Regions from separate parts of the Homo sapiens genome. Here region 1 is linked to region 2. Evidence: promoter capture Hi-C in 16 types of primary human blood cells and fetal thymus (Javierre and others, 2016). All regions are on one chromosome and are shown on one strand. The core of a region is centred on a gene start or on the middle of the fragment in contact, and the rest is flanking DNA. Distances in the headings are between cores, read along the strand shown.

The links. The method cuts DNA at HindIII sites, captures the fragments that hold promoters and counts their contacts. A CHiCAGO score of 5 or more calls a contact.
Region 1: a fragment that was not itself captured here is called in contact with the fragment with the promoter of DIS3L2 in region 2 in 2 of 17 cell types (fetal thymus and erythroblasts); the score reaches 5.8 in fetal thymus.

What each region holds. Positions count from the first base shown.
Region 1 is chr2:232,141,017-232,143,920 of GRCh38, forward strand. The region is part of intron 8 of DIS3L2 (DIS3 like 3'-5' exoribonuclease 2); the gene reads left to right. Among named protein-coding and RNA genes, the nearest start is that of MIR562, 30 kb to the right of the region's middle. The HindIII fragment of the contact is 8,971 bases long and covers 1-2,904 here.
Region 2 is chr2:231,960,338-231,963,040 of GRCh38, forward strand. DIS3L2 (DIS3 like 3'-5' exoribonuclease 2) reads left to right here and starts at 1,376. Exons shown (of 21, transcript NM_152383.5): 1 at 1,376-1,428. RefSeq lists an enhancer at 1,254-1,343 and a silencer at 1,474-1,633. The HindIII fragment of the contact is 14,565 bases long and covers 1-2,703 here.

The DNA.
Region 1 (2,904 bases), core at 128-2,627, 180 kb after region 2:
CTCTAGTCCAGGATAATTAAAAAGCCACATTGGTTTCTTCGCTGGAATGATCTGCAATTACATAATCAGATTTACAGTTTTAAGAGCTTCCCAACCTCTTAAATCATCTTTCCCTTTAGAAACTCTTGCAGTGGAATTCATGCCTATATTTTCTCAGCCCTTTGGGAAATCTGGTATCCTCAGTCTAGAGTTTACAGTTCCAGCTTCTCTTTCCGGGATGTCTTGAGCGTAGAGATAGCATGGTCACTTTCTCCCAGATTTGTCATGGTTTCTTCTTGACTATTTAAGGGTAAGTCTTGAATAAAATGGAAACGTTTTACAGCAGCTACCGTGAGGAACTTAATAGTGTTTCTTGGCAACACTGAAGGCTAGCTGAAGATATGTGACATGAATCGACCTAGAGCAAATTGACACATTTATATTATTTTATCAAGCAAAGTCTGGTGGTTTTGAGGGGTGGAGGAGGAGGAGGAAAAATGAATAGGTCATTACAGGCTGAGAAGTTCTTGGTTGAACATGGGATTGCCTAGGCTTAATGGGAGGCTGTGGAAATGAGAAACAGAGAATGGGTCACAGTGCTGCTGGCTTTAATGAGTGTGAAGGACAGCAGGTTCCATTGGAGCAGATGACGGAGTGAGGTGAAAGCAGAGGAAGGGAAATTCTGACCTTAGAGGACTGTGGTAGAGATGGGAAGTAGGGGGTGGAGGTCTGTTCTGGTATCACCTTTGTCTCCTAGCTTTTCACCTTGTGGTGGTTGTTAGCCAGTCAGCAATATTTATTGACCCATGGAAGCAAATACTTTTACATTCCATTCAGTTTTGATAGATACTCAGTTTCTTACAGGGTAGATAGGAATTGAAGAGGTGGTCATTAAATTACATTAAATACATTGAATTGTAATTAGTAGGAAAATTAAACCATGACTAGATTGATAGAAAAAACAAACAGAAGAAATTAGTTTGTTTCATTGAAGCATAGGCTCCAAGATTAGCAAACTGAAAAATAACTGTATCCAATCTTTCCCTTTGCAAAAGGAATATTTCACCTTTTTGAGAGCATGTTCTTTAAAGATAGCTCTGAGGGAGAAACCAAGTTATATAATGCTATGGACTCGCATTACCAGATCTATAGAGTTTGTATGTTCTTTTCAAGGGGTATGGACCTGGCCGGCTAGGAGGCAAAAAGCAAATCAGGCTGAGGAGGGGGCTCTTTTTTTGTGACTGTTGGGCTCCACCTGGTGGCCTGTAAGGATCAGCTTTGGAAAAAGCTGTGTCTTCAACACTGAGAAAATCCTGGTCAAGGCAGAGCAAAAGTTAAAGGAATGGAGGAGAATGATCCTGATCCAGGCTTAGGTTACCAAATTGTTCCTTTCCTTGATGAGCACTGCATGCAGTTTTGGCACTTCTTCCAAAGTCGCCATCTTCAACTGCAATTTCTAGTGCACCTTCTTGAAAATATTATGATGTTAGAGGACCTTAGATAACCATCAACCTCCTCTTATACTCATTAAATCCTTTCAGCTTCCTCTTTGCTTTCTTCATATCAACACCAATTCACTCTTAAATTTCAAGACCTTTTCTTAAATAACTCAGTATTGTTGACTCTTACTTCTTTTCTCCATGCTTTTATCTATTTTCACTGATAAAAACACCGTTCCTGAAGTCCCTATTCCTTAAGTGCTACTTTCTGCTGTGTCATAGTACTGAGCCATAAGAAGCGAAAATAACTCGTTCCCTCTCCTGATTATAGAAAATAATACATAAAATATACAGCCAAAGACAAGTGTATTTGCCACACTTCGTTTTTACTTTGTATTGTTGGAAGTTTGGGCCCTCGGTATAGTTGATGTTTGATTGTTCCCCACTTGTACATTCTCAGGGCTGTGATGCCATTATATCTGTTTGCATGGAGTTTCCAACATTGGACCAACATGTATGAGAGCATGTATTTAAGAGTAGTAATACGATAGTGGTAATCACTGCAAGAGTGCATGACTGTCTTCTAAATATCGTCTAGTTGTAAGACTAGGAGTTTATAAGAATATTTAGTAGAGGAAAGATGATGAATGGCTGAGAACACTAATCTTGACTATTTAATGTTCCTGTTTTCTTTAAGGCAAAGAGGCCAATTTGAAGGACTTTCTTGTTATATTTTTTTCTGTCTGTAGCTGGTCCCTTTCCTCAGTACGTTTTTAATAGGCATATCACCCAGGATAGTAGATCTGATGCTTATTTATATAGAATGTTTATATGTTTCCCAAGGCCCCCACCTATCATATGTAGGAAGTTGGGAATATTGTTGCAGTGCCATTCAGATTAATTTTACAGTAGGACTCAGTTGGAATGTCATTCTTTGTGAATGGCAGCAGTATTCATGGAGGAGCTCTAGTGAAGAAAAATTGAAGTGGTGATCATTATAAATAACTCTATGGAGGAAAACTTTCTCTCTTACAACTATTATTGAAATATCAAATTAACAAACATTTCTAAATTTTATTTTTTCCAAATACATACATATTGAATATTTACTGTTAAATTTATTCAAATGTGTACTATTGAAAATGAAAATTTCCCAGAGTTTCACCCCCGGAAACGATCACTATTAAGGTTTTGGTATACATTTGACTAAAATATTGTTTTAAAAATATTTATCAACTTTAATTACAAAGCATATTTCACAGGAAAAAGAATATATGTAACACTTCTATAATTTTTGAAACCTAATACTAAAACCAACCCATGAACTCATGAACCAGATTAAGAAGTATAACATCACCAATACTGTTCAAGTTCCCTGTCTGTTCTCCTGTATCCTAAACCATAATTTTTTCCCCAGAGGTAACCACCATCTCAAATATACTAATGAAAATGTATTTAAAAAAAAATTTACCCATATTTATAACCC
Region 2 (2,703 bases), core at 126-2,625:
CCAGGAGGCGGAGGTTGCAGTGAGCCGAGATCGCACCATTGCACTCCAGCCTGGGCGACAGAGCGATAGTCCGTCTCAAAAAAAAAAAAAAAAAAAAAAAGAGAAATATAGGCACAATTTAATGCATCTCTTTTCCTTTTTCAATATGGAGCATACGGTGGTTCAAGCATCTGTCCACATTGTATTCCCGAAGTTTGATCCCTACCCTGCCCTGCCCTCCCGTCTTTCCTTCCCTCTCTCTTTTTTTTTTTCTGGAGTGCAATGGTGCGATCTCGGCTCACTGCAACCTCCGCCTCCGGGGTTAAAGCGATTCACCAGCCTCAGCCTCCTGAGTAGCTGGGATTACAGGCATGTGCCACCACGTCTGGCTAATTTATTATTTTTAATAGGGACGGGGTTTCTCCATGTTGATCAGGCTGGTCTCGAACTCCCGACCTCAGGTGATCCGCCCGCCTCGGCCTCCCAAAGGGAAGTTTGATTTTTCTATGGTCACCAATGGACACTTGATCTCCATAGCTTGAGAATGGCGGCCATCCCCTCACTGGCATTCTTTCCTCTTGTGCTCTCCCGAACGTTCTGGCTGCTCTTTGGATTTCCTTTTCCTTTGCTCACATCTACAATATTGGTGTTTCCTAGGTCCCGTACTTAACGATTGTTTCCTCTCAACACGCTTCCCTGGGCGGGCTGAACTGTCGGGGGCTTTCTCGGCTGCGCTTCCTCTCTCACCTGAAACCCTCTTCCCAACCCTTTATACTAGGTCGACGTCTCCAACATCAGCTGCTCCCCACCCGTGTCTGGGTGGGCCCCTTGGGCAGGCTCCCCTAGTCTCCTTTCCTTCGATCATCCCCACGTGCAGGACGTCATCTGCTTGCTCTGCCATCAGCCTCACATCCTGAGGGCAGGGACCATGCGGGGGTTGTCCATCTCTGTATCCCCAGTGCCAGCACTGCACCTCGCCCCAAGCAGTTGTCCAATAAATGAGCAGTGAGTAAATGAAAGAATGAGCAAAGCCTTGTAACAGGAAAGGGGCCGGCGGCGTCTGCCGTGCAAGACCTGGCCCAGTGGAGCAGAGCCTGGAGGTTCAGGAGCCGGGTCTGGAAGGCTCCTTCCGGTGGAAGAGGGGCCCGGAGCCAGCCGGCGCCTGGCACAAGGCGTCTCAGAGGCCGCCCACTGGGAGCCAACCGTTGCAGCCAGTTGTCCCCGCGAGCGAGGCCGGAGAAGGCGCGGCGGCCCCTGGCCTGGCCATTTCGCCCTTGTCGCAGCTGAACCGCCGACTACGAGCTCCTGCACCGCGCACACACCCCGCGCGCTTCGCTCTCGGCCTCGCCCGGCCACCGTCGCTCTCTAGAACGCCGCGCCCGTGACCCGGAAGAGCATTCTCCTTAGCAACTGCGGGACTGCGGCGGCGCCGGCCTCCGGGGAGAAACGGTGAGGCCCTCACTCGCCTGCCCCCTGCACCGCCTAGTGCTGCACGACCCCCTCGGGACCGACCCGGGGTCTGGCCTCTGGGGGGCTCCGCGGCGCTTCGCCCGGCACCTGTGGTGGCGGCCCGGGACGAGCGTCTTCCGCCTCTGGCGTTGCTCCCCGGCCCACGCGTCTTCCCTGTCCCGCATCTCCCTCAATGTCCCCAGCTCCCCACTCTCCGCTCCTGACCGACCCGGCCTCCCAGGCCGCGCTTATAGCGCCGGGGCCCTTGTAGCCTAGGATGGCGTGAGGGGAGCGAGACCAGAATTAGAGCCTGTTGCTGTAGAGAGGACGCCTCCCGAGGCTCGGGTCACCTGTGGACGCGTTCTCTAGGGTCTTGATCGAGATGTTCAGGACTGGCAGGGATGGGGAGCCTCGGGAATCTTGAAGGGCAGCCGCTTAATTATAACATGTCCTTGACGTTTGCGCTTTCCACAGTGATACACTTTATCTCCTTTATTGATCATAGAGAGTTTTTTTTTTTAATAAACTTTTAGATATGGGGGATACGCATGCAGGTTAGTCACATGGGTATATTGCACCCAGGTATTGAGCATAGAACCCAGTAGGTAGTTTTTCAACCCACATCCCCCATCTCTCCCCTCCTTCCAGTAGTCTACAGTGTCTACCGTTACCTTTTTTTTTTTTTTTTGAGACGGAGTCTCATTCTGTCGCCCAGGCTGGAGTGCAGTGGCGCGATTCGGCTCACTGCAAGCTCCGCCTCCTGGGTTCATGCCATTCTTCTGCCTCAGCCTCCCGAGTAGCTGGGACTACAGGCGCCCGCCACCCCGCCCGGCTAATTTTTTTGTATTTTTAGTAGAGACGGGGTTTCACCATGTTAGTCAGGATGGTCTCGATCTCTTGACCTCGTGATCCGCCCGCCTTGGCCTCCCAAAGTGCTAGGATTACAGGCGTGAGCCACCGCACCCGGCCGACTGTTCCCATGTTTATGTCCATGTGCGCTCAATGTTTCTACTCCCACTTGTAAGTGTGCTCAATGTTTAGCTCCCACTTATAAGTGAGAACGTGTGGTGTTTAGTTTTCTGTTCTTGTGCTAATTCGTTTAGGATTATGGCCTCCAGCTCCATCTGTGCTGCTGTAAAGGACATGATATCTTCCTTTTTTGTGGCTGCATAGTATTCCATCCTGTACATCCACATTTTTTTTTTCCAGTCCACCATTGATGGTCACCTAGGTTGATTCCGTGTGTTTGCTATTGTGAATAGCTCAGCCGTGAAC